Regions from separate parts of the Homo sapiens genome. Here all the other regions are linked to region 1. Evidence: promoter capture Hi-C in 16 types of primary human blood cells and fetal thymus (Javierre and others, 2016). All regions are on one chromosome and are shown on one strand. The core of a region is centred on a gene start or on the middle of the fragment in contact, and the rest is flanking DNA. Distances in the headings are between cores, read along the strand shown.

What was found. Contacts are between HindIII fragments. The CHiCAGO score rates a contact against its expected background, and 5 or more counts as called.
Region 2: a contact is called between the fragment with the promoter of KMO here and the fragment with the promoter of ADSS2 in region 1, in 1 of 17 cell types (activated CD4 T cells). The highest score is 5.2, in activated CD4 T cells.
Region 3: the fragment with the promoter of TFB2M here is called in contact with the fragment with the promoter of ADSS2 in region 1 in 1 of 17 cell types (fetal thymus); the score reaches 5.3 in fetal thymus.

The regions. Positions count from the first base shown.
Region 1 is chr1:244,450,326-244,453,881 of GRCh38, reverse strand. ADSS2 (adenylosuccinate synthase 2) reads left to right here and starts at 1,973. Exons shown (of 13, transcript NM_001126.5): 1 at 1,973-2,247. The coding sequence starts at 2,065. It also overlaps a transcript of CATSPERE not described here. RefSeq lists silencers at 1,584-2,073, 2,514-2,793. The HindIII fragment of the contact is 6,677 bases long and covers 1-3,556 here.
Region 2 is chr1:241,530,639-241,534,194 of GRCh38, reverse strand. KMO (kynurenine 3-monooxygenase) reads right to left here and starts at 1,817. Exons shown (of 15, transcript NM_003679.5): 1 at 1,697-1,817. The coding sequence starts at 1,750. RefSeq lists an enhancer at 2,085-2,234. The HindIII fragment of the contact is 7,761 bases long and covers 1-3,556 here.
Region 3 is chr1:246,564,715-246,568,270 of GRCh38, reverse strand. It overlaps TFB2M (transcription factor B2, mitochondrial), which reads left to right and starts at 2,010. Exons shown (of 8, transcript NM_022366.3): 1 at 2,010-2,445. The coding sequence starts at 2,133. CNST (consortin, connexin sorting protein) reads right to left here and starts at 1,815. Exons shown (of 11, transcript NM_152609.3): 1 at 1,608-1,815. RefSeq lists enhancers at 1,211-1,710, 1,751-1,810, 2,041-2,320. The HindIII fragment of the contact is 6,532 bases long and covers 1,079-3,556 here.

The DNA of each region.
Region 1 (3,556 bases), core at 724-3,223:
AGGAGCCGAACAGACACCCTGCAATGGGGCTACAGACACCTCACCATAGGGCTACAGAACCAGTTGGGAGAAAGGAGGCGTTGGCAGCACCTAGGATACTCACCAATCCAGACACCCTGCCCTGCAATGGGGCTACAGACAGACACCCTGTGATAGGGTTACAGTTAAGGGACGTCTCCCCGGGGCTATTTCTCCATTGCAATTAAATCCATGCACACTGGGTTGGCAGCACCCCACCAGTAGAGAGAGTACCAGAGTCAGCCCCCAGTCCAAGAGAACTGGGTGGCCGCTTGGGCAGGCTTCTGGATCCATTGCTGGAGGGGGGCCACTGAACCACGAGTAGGTAGCCACAAAGGCAATGCCAGACAAGCCCCCAAATTTGTAACCGCCCAAGGGGTTCACCTTGTCCACTGCCTAGACAGAGCCAATTCATCAAGACAGGCAAATGGCAATAGAGAAAGAGTAATTCATGTAGAGCTGGCTGTGCAGGAAACCAGAGTTTTATTATTACTCAAATCAGTCTCCCATAAATGATTTTAAAAAATTGAATGGAAATGACTAGTAAGGTGTGCTTATTCAGTATCTACTATCTGCCCAACACTACCTCGGGCATTTGACTAGAAAGAAATAGATGGCATTCTTGTTTCCAAAATGTTTGTGATCTTGTAATAAGGCCAAGATAGACAACAATTATCACATAGTATTATAATTGTTTACTAATCAATAGACCAAATAATTTGAATCCTTGAGGGCTGAATTGTATCTTTATTTCTCCTATGTTATCAGTGCCCAGGACACTTAGTTAGTTAATAGCAGGTTCTCAATGTTCCTGACTTAACTCATTGACTAGAAATAAAATACTAAAGTGTACTCTAGGGACCATTAGTGAACATACAGTATGTACAGGCGATTTGGGAGACGGTACATATAATGTGATTCCATTCCCACTTTTTTTCGAAGCACCTTTTATCAGAATTAAACATCATAGTTAATTTGTGTTGGTGTCGAAAGGGCATTAGATGAACAGTAGGTATACACCAGAATCTAGTTACAAATGTAACTGAGAGACAGTGGAATCTACAGGAAGGACATGGGCTCTGGACTTAGATTATCGAAGTACCAATTCAAGCCTCACTAGGGCAAGTTACCCAGCTTTTAAATCCTGTAAAATAAGGATAATAGAGGATCACCTACCTTATATGGTTGTGGGGATTAAAAAATAAAGAAGTGCATGACGGTATCTGCATATATGTACTATATGCGACATAGGTAATCCACTCCTCCTCTCTGAGCCTTTGTTACTACTATGTAAAATGAGGATTAGGACTTTATTTGATCTATTGATTTCAGGTCTCATGTCCTTTATCTTATTGCCTTACTTTTGAATTTTGTCTTTTTTGATCCCTGTCCCCATCTCTGTTACTTCCGGACTTTTAATTTCCAATTCTACACTTACACGTTCCGATTTTATGCTGTTTGTACTGCGAAATTCCACAGTTTGTATTTTGTACACATTCATTCCTTAATAAAGACAAATCCAGACAAACCTGCAGATGGCAGACACAGTGGCCCCAGAATACACCGCCGCAGCCCAGAGCGTTGCATGCTGGGATTTGTAGTCCGACGCTCCACACGCGCTTCCGCGCCTCTCCAGTTTGAAAGCGAGAGGTAGAGCGGGTAGGCGGGGTGCTGAAGGAGAAGCGCTCTCGAAGCCCCGCCCCTGACCTTTTCCGCTCGCGAGGTTTGCACGGGAGTGGCGCGCCAGGCCGCGGAAGGGGCGTGGCCTCGGTCCGGGGTGGCGGCCGTTGCCGCCACCAGGGCCTCTTCCTGCGGGCGGTGCTGCCGAGGCCGGCCTGCGCGGGGCAGTCATGGTACCCCCTTGAGCGGGCTGTGGCGGAGAGCGGGGCGGGGACTGGCTGGAGGGTGGCGGCCCGGCGGGGCGGGGGCGGGGCCGGCCTCTGGCTCCTTCTTCCTCTGCATGTGGCTGGCGGCCGCAGAGCAGTTCAGTTCGCTCACTCCTCGCCGGCCGCCTCTCCTTCGGGCTCTCCTCGCGTCACTGGAGCCATGGCGTTCGCCGAGACCTACCCGGCGGCATCCTCCCTGCCCAACGGCGATTGCGGCCGCCCCAGGGCGCGGCCCGGAGGAAACCGGGTGACGGTGGTGCTCGGTGCGCAGTGGGGCGACGAAGGCAAAGGGAAGGTGGTGGACCTGCTGGCGCAGGACGCCGACATCGTGTGCCGCTGCCAGGTGAGGCGACGGGGCCTCTCATGGGAAGCCGGGCCCGGGAGCTCGGGCTGCCTGGCTCCTGGTGCCCGGGAACTCGGACCCAGAACCCGGATCCACTGGCCAAAATGAGGTGTCACCTTGAGGCTCTCTCCTCCTGTCCTGAGCTGCGGCTACGTGGAGAAATGGCGGGAGGTCGGGGACCCCTGACCTGGAGCGTCGGGTGAAACTTGGGGTGGCCCTGGAGGAAGAGGTGGGCTGGCGGGGAGCCTTTGAGAGATGCGCGATGCCTGGCAGTTGCAGTTTTGCGTCTGGCGAGTGGTGCTCAGCGCCGGGACTGAGGCCGGGGTGGAGGTGGGATGCGGTCCGAGTTTGAGGAGCTACCGCCCGAGGCCTGCTCCCAACTCTTCCGACTGCGGGCGGAGACCCGGCGCGACGGCAGAACCCCCCATCACCGCCCCCCCGCCCCGCCCAGGGCGGCGGAGTGGGAGTGGATTGTTTCGAAACGTCCTGAAATCAGACTCACCGATCCCCCATCTGCAGGACCGTGGCATGCAGTGCTTTGCTTCCTCTGGTCCACTTTGTTGACATCCAAACCCACCCACCTCTGGGCTTTGGACTGTTGTTTTAGGGCCCTGAGTTTCTTGTTTTTGTTTTTGTTTTTACAGTGTGCTCCATACATGAAAGTTAAGGAGAAATTACTTTTACTAGTTGGTCCCAGAGGAAGGAATCCCTTCTCTGTTCAAAAAAAGTGAGGGAAGTAAATACATGGATGTCAAATTGAGTATTTGGAAATAAATATTTGCATTGTTAAGGTGACATCGAAAGTGAACTTTCGGAAAACGAGGTGGTAATGTACTTCTAACGGGAGACACGTGGTTTTCAGTGTAACCTTTCTTCCTATTTGTCGTTTCCTTTGACGCAGCATACAGGGTAAGGCCTTTGTAAAGGCTCTCAGATAACTCTCTCCAGTTTCAAAATTCTAAGCAGATGAGCAATAACCACTTTCAAAACAAAGCATAATGTAATATTTGAAGTTAACTGCTATCTGTTTAGGTTGCAAGAATATTTGTTTTTGAACATGCATGGCATGATATGATGGTGCCATGCTGTATATGTTCTAGTAAGTTATAGGCCCCCTTGAATACCATTTTGAGCATGCAGAAACAATGAAATCACAGGTATGTTAAAAAGCTAAATGCAAATACTGCAAATATTCTCTGATTTACCTTGTTTCGTTTTGTTTTGTTTTCATTTAGAAATCCACCCTGCCCATTCTGAAATAGCTGTTGCACTAATTGCCTCTTAGGAAACTGTCACTACCACCTCTCCC
Region 2 (3,556 bases), core at 568-3,067, 2.9 Mb after region 1:
TAGTCATTCTCCACATAATGGTCCAAGGGACCTTTTAAAATCACAACTTAATTTCCTGCCTAAAATCCTCCAATAGTTTCCCATTGTAATTTGAACAAAATCTGATCTTCTTGCCTGGACCTCTAAGATCCTACAAGATCTGGTCTGTCAGCTTTTCTGGCCTCATCAGCTACTCTTCTCTGGCCTCAGGCAGTTCCTGCCTTTCTTTCTGCTCCTTGAACTTGGGCAGCTCATTATTGCCTGAGGGTTTCTCTTCCTGCTGTTCCCTCTGCCTGAAATGCTCTTTCTCAAGATCTTCACGTAGTTAGTTCTATCTGATCATTCAGGTCTCTGGTCACATGTCCCTTCAGCAGAGCAGCTGTCCCTGACCACATTCTAAACAGGTACTCCCAAAGATACTCTCTACAGCACTACCCTGTTTTCGTTTCTTTCATAGTGCTTCTCTTTAACTGAAATTGTCTTATTTGTTTTCTTCTTCCTTGTCTTTTTCTTCTCTGGAATTCTCACCCTCGCATCCCTACTACCTAAAACAATATTGGTACATAGTAATCAGATTTTGTTGAACACATGAATTCTCATTTTGTGCAACATTTTGATAGGACAGATTGGACACAAGCCTAGTATGAAGCAGTGACGACACATGTCCCAACCAGTGACCAACACATCATGTGATAGCATTTCTAAATGAAAATTTAGAATCAGAAATATTAAAAGAACTGTTCTAGCACTTTGGGGAAAAGACACTAAGGAAGGCAGAACAAAAGACAGCATATACTGTATAAATACATGTGTGGCATAAAATATACCATCTATATTCAGCCTAGAACAGTGTTACGCCCTCAATAAATTTTTTGTTGAGTGGATATATGAATAATTAATGAAAAGTCTCCAAATGATTTGACCAAAGGTGATAGGGAAATGATTTAACCTTGACTAACTGGGATGTTTGTATTCTGAAACAGAAATTCTGCTGAGATGGGAAAAAGCAAAGTTGAATCGGAGCAGACCCATGTTAAACAGAACTACCTTTGGCACCATAACTATGAAAGCAGAGAGTGACCTCTCCTTCCGTCTTGTTAGGTATGGGGGAAGCCCCAGCACCTTTACGTCACGTGCTCAGTGAGAGGTGAACACCTCACTCCACTGTCTTAGGTGCTCCACTGGAAGAGTCAAGTAAGTCAGGCGACCACATAAATCTTATTCCCAATTACTCATATAACTAGTGAACATTCAACATGATACTTTGACGTTAGCTTCATGTTTCTTGACCCTTTTATTCTCATTAGACAGCATTAACTGAGTTATTAAACAAAGCGGAACAAATGTTTTTATTAAAATGAATATTGAGACTAATTCCTGTTCCTAAAAACATAGCCAATTTGGGGATAAAATCAAATTCAATTTGCATTATTTTTGCTTTTTAACAAATCCTAAACCAAAATGATGAGGGAAAACAGAAACCTTTGTATTTAATGGCTATAAAATACCTTTCCTGAAAAAGAACAGATTAAAACTCATACTATATTAAATCTATGAAAATAAAAATATTAAAAAAATAAACAAAATAGCTGTATTTAAATATCAGAGTTTTCACAAGAAAATTAACAATTTGCAGAAGTGACGAATAATAATCATTACGAGTAATAATAGTTAATATAATACCACCAACAATAGTAATCCATCTGAAAATTCTTACCAAGCCACCACCAATGACAGCTACTTTTTTCCTTTGAATGACAGATGAGTCCATAACTGCTGAAGTATTTTTCACAATTATTGTTGCTTCTGTCACTGAGTGACACTGATTTCTGTGTCTCCTACACACTGATTTCTCTGAGTTTTTATACTGCCCCAAGCCTAGTGCATTCATGAGCCAGCGGCAATGTTTAGTCAGGGCTAATTTCCCTTGACAGTATTAACCCATTAGTTGGCCAAAGTACAATCAGCTCAGCTCTAAGAAAAAATAAATCCATTACAATAACCAAATTTTTTAAAAAATCCATCCAATTGGAGACACTCTATTTTTTCTATCTTCTGTGTAAGACACAGAAATTTTTAAGCAGTCTTGTGGCTTTTCTTCTTCTTTTTCTACAGCATATATTCTTAGTTTCGTTTTCATTCATGATTAACCATGAATGGAGCCCTTCTCATCTGAAGTCCAAAAACATCTTATACCTCCCTTAGAGAGTAAGATGACATGGTTTCATAATTCATCTGTGGATCATTTTTGTGGTTAAGACCAATCAAAAATTTCATCTAAAGGGTCCTCATGGATTGTTTTTAACAGGCTCTACCAGGGAAAATTCTCTGCAAGGTCTTAATATTCTCCCGATCAACATTTTGAATTGTGTAACTGACCATACTTCCCCTTTTTTTTTTCAGCCCAGATGCTAGAAAATTTAGAATCTAATTTTAGAATCGAAAATTTAGAGTCTAATTACCACTAGGGGAGATGACTGACACAACGCTTCTGTAAACTCATTCCCGACTTCATATTATCTATTCACTTTTTTGTCTTTTTCACTCCGTTTTAAATGTTATACTTTTGTGCATGATTTGCGAATGGCAATTGTTTTCTGGAACATGATGTGGTGTAATGTAAAATAAGAACATAAATGAAGTTGTTTCTTCACTTCCTGTTAAGCACATAAAGAATTCAGAACGTTTTTTTCCCTGGTTAGGAACTAGAGTTAAATGGCATTCAATAGTGACCCCTTGTGGATAAGCATGATTAGGTATTTTATTTATTTTGAATAGGTAATACATTAACATGGCATGAAATTAAAGACACAAAAGAGTACACGGTGAATAGTAATCCTGCTAACCTTGACCCTTGGCCACCTATTCCTCCTGCCCAAAGACAACAACTGTTTTGGTGTGTGGGTTACCGTATTCTTCTACACGTTGATTATGTCTTTCTTGTTCTTCCTCTCTCTCCTTTTCTCTCTCTCTTTCTCTCACTCTCTCATTCCCTTCCTTCCTTTCTTTTTAAACATACATTTAAAAACTTTTTCCACATCATATTTCTCACTTTACAACATATAGCTTGAGAATTCTTCAATATCAATATGTAGAGAATATGTATCAATTCCTCAGTATCAATATGTATCATTGTTAAAAAATCTTTTAAAAATTATGAACTATAACACAAATGAACAGTATAATAAGTTACTGTAAAGCAAGTATCCATGTAACTACCATTTAGGTGCAGAGAGAGAATATTGCCAGAATCCCAGAAGTCTAACGTGCCCCCTGTTAATCACCCCTCCTTCGTAGAGGTAACTGCCATACCAACTTTCTTTGCTTTTATGTATAATTGTACCATGATAGATGCATCCCTAAAATAGTTTAGTGTTGACTTTTTTGAACTTTCCTATAAATGAACTTATACTGTTTATTTTTTTACAACTTGCTTCTTTTTCTCAATATTATATCTCTTAAGATCCATTTGTGTTGTTGCATGTTTTTCCAGTTCATTCATTTTTATCGTCATTTATTATTTGTCCATTGTGCTGTTGATGGACATTTGGGGTGTTTCCAAATTTTTAATATCATG
Region 3 (3,556 bases), core at 761-3,260, 2.1 Mb before region 1:
TTTTTCTAGGACTCAGTAGGCTAACTTTGGTCCACAAACATTATGAAATAAGACAGTGCATTTTAAAATAACTGTTTTGTTTTTAACCACAATGTGTTTATTTTTCTTTTTCTCTTTTTCTTTCTTTCTTTTTTTTTAAGGAGACAGAGTCTATGTTGCCCAGTCTGGCTTCGAACTCCCGGCAGCAAGTGATCCTCCCACCTTGGCCTCCCAAAGTGCTGGGATTACAGGCATGAACTACCATACCCAGCCACCACAGTGTTTTTTTTAAAAAGTCAGAAATTCAACGACACATTTCTATGAGTGAACCATGAAGACATAATTCTATTTTATCTGATTTAAAAATATTTAGGACTCCAGGTCCTGGAGGGGGAAAAAAGTGTATTTCTGAATCTATGAAAATGTTTTTTAAGGGGAGAGGGGGAGGCAGCTCAGTAATGGAGAGAGGTTCAGAGGATGCAAAGTCACCTCTAGAAAATTGTCAGTGAGAAAACTGTACGAAAAAAGAATTTAAGCAAATTAAGACCAATGAGTGAGTCCCCACAGTTTGCACAACAGTTGATGAGATATTTTCTATGATGTCCTAACAAATTTATAATACACAAAAGGTCATATTTAGTTGTCAATTCTTTATCCGCTTGAGCTTCATCAGATGAGTATAATCTTCAGACTATTTGCTGGGTGATACATTCCTTAGGAACCTTTTCCTCGTGCATTTAAATGCCAAACTCAATTACACTCTCAGTAGAGTAAGCAGAAAGGATTGTACGTATTCTAAGACACGGAGTTGATTGGCTGCCGTTTCTTGCCTTGGTGGTAAGGATAATGGGTAAAAGCTCTAAGTTTGATCCTGAAACACGGAAAACACTCTCAAAGAACCGTGTCTTCTAACATTGCCCAATAGGTAAAAAAAAAAAGACTGCCAAAATTTCCATTACAGCATCCTATTTTTAGTCTTCAAAATTGGGTCTTTTAAATCGCATTCCACAGTACGATGTGTTTGACTAAGTTTACATAAGGAATACAGTAAGCATCCTAAAGTCTTAATCTTTTTAAGCTTAGAAAGGAATTGTAAGCTTTTACATCTTCATTTTTAATCTTAACTTTAAGTCTTTTAAACACACAAACTGAAAAAATTAAGGAAAATATTGGCCCAGAGAGAGGAATGGAAGGGAGACACCACGCGGTTCTTGACAACCAAAGTGGTAGTGATGGGGGGGACCAGGTGTGGGGGGGAAATGAAAACCATCCACGAGGGTGGGGAGAGCGGGCTGTGGGCCACACAACAGAAAGGAACGGAGACCGTGGAAGCCGCAGGCTCCTCCAGGAGCCGGGTGAGGAACGACTTCTGGCGCTAGTCCCCTAGGGAGGGAGAAATTGGCGCGACGCGCAGCAATAGGAGACCCACAGTAGCTGAGAAAGGAGAGGAAAACAGGCGACCTGAGAGGCGGAGGAGGTAAGGGGACCGGGCTACACCTCACCCGGAGGGCAGAGGCTGCGCGGCTGGAGGAGGACAGCGCAGGGGGAGGAGCGAGAGGCTTCCGAAAGGCTTTCCATCCCGGCCGCGAGCCGGCGGGTCCCCTGCATCCCGCTCCTCCTCTCCTCACCTGGGAATCGGAGGCGCAAGGAGGGCTACCGCTGGGCGCCGGGTCTGTTTCCAGCCCCACTCGGCGACATGGCGGCCGACGTGCTGTCACGGAGCTTGCTCGGGTCTCCCCTGGCTCCGGTGGAGGAGACACCTCTCGCCTTTCCGCCCCGCCTCCCTCTGCGCACCCCTCGCGGCTGGCCGGCTGGAGGCTGGCGGCCCGCGACCGCGGAGCATAGAGCACTGGCGGCTAGAGAGGAAGCGCAGAGCGCGGACAACCATAGAGTACGAGTCCGGACACCAGCCGGATGGTCGGTCGCTCTCCTCAACGGTCCACTCACAATCCTCGGGCGGCTGAGCCGAGGCGGAAGCGGAAGTGAGGGAGAAAAGCAGGAAGGCTCCGCTGTTCGCATGCGCAGGCTCTAGTGTTTACTTCCGCTTGACCTGGCCCGGACGCCAGAAAATGTTCCACGTGGGATACCCTGCGTGGGGTTCACTGTAGTAGCTGCACTAGGTGATTCTTGGAGCGGGCCTGAGAGACAAGGACATGTGGATCCCAGTGGTCGGGCTTCCTCGGCGGCTGAGGCTCTCCGCCTTGGCGGGCGCTGGTCGCTTTTGCATTTTAGGGTCTGAAGCGGCGACGCGAAAGCATTTGCCGGCGAGGAACCACTGTGGGCTCTCTGACTCCTCTCCGCAGCTGTGGCCCGAACCGGATTTCAGGAATCCGCCAAGGAAGGCGTCTAAGGCCAGCTTAGACTTTAAGCGTTACGTAACCGATCGGAGATTGGCTGAGACCCTGGCGCAAATCTATTTGGGAAAACCAAGTAGACCTCCACACCTACTGCTGGAGTGCAATCCAGGTGAGTCCAGCTGAATTGCATTTTCTTGGATGTTCATCATTTATTCAAACGTATTGACCCTCCTCGGGGTGCTATTTTAGATACTGGGGGGTCTTTTTTGTTGTTCTTTTGCTTTGAGACGGAGTCTCGCTGTGTTGCCAGGCTGGAGTGCAGTGGGGCGATCTCGGCTCCCTGCAACCTCCGCGTACCGGGTTCAGGCGATTCTCCTGCCTCAGCCTCCCGAGTAGCAAGAACTACAGGCGCGCGCCACCACGCCCAGCTAATTTTCTTATTTTTACTAGAGACGGGATTTCGCCGTGTTGGCCAGGATGGTCTCGATCTCTTGACCTCGTGATCCTCCCCCCTAGGTCTCCCAAAATGCTGGGATTAGAGGCGTGAGCCACTGCGCCCGTCCAGATACGGGTCTTTGTTTGAAGCTCCTTAGTTGGAGAGATTGCCCACTACATAAGCGTAGAGTCTGTATCGTTAATGACACCACAAAGTATTTCTGTAGCAGCTTGCACTTTACACAATATTTTGATAAAACATGCTCTTAGATCTTATCTCCCCAAAAGAGTTGCAAGCCTCTGCCAGCTGAAAAAATGATGTTATCTTATTCTTCCGTGCATTCCCTATAGACCATAGCAGGATGCTAAGAACACAAGATTTATAGGCTTTTTGAATGATAGTTTTTTAAAGCACCATTTCATATCACAGGGAGTCAGTTCTGTTTAGGCTTGACAATCTCTTTGATGGTTAAAGCATCCGTGTAGTCCGTGAGGAAGTGATAGGCTAGAGGCAATCTATTTTGCTGTGACTTTTTTCTTCTAAGAGGTAGTGAATCATGGTGATGAAGAGTGCAAGTTTTGACCTGGTGCGGTGGCTCACGCCTGTAATCCAGCACTTTCAGAGGCCGAGGCGAGTGGTTCCCTTGAGGTCAGGAGTTCCAGACCAGCCTGGCCAACATGGTGAAACTCCGTCTCTGCTTAAAATACAAAAATTAGCCGGGCGTGGTGGCGGGCGCCTGTAATCCCAGCTACTCGGGAGGCTGAGGCAGGAGAATCGCTTGAACCCAAGAGGCAGAGGTTGCAGTGAGCCGAGATTGCCCCACTGCACTCCAGCCTGGGTGACA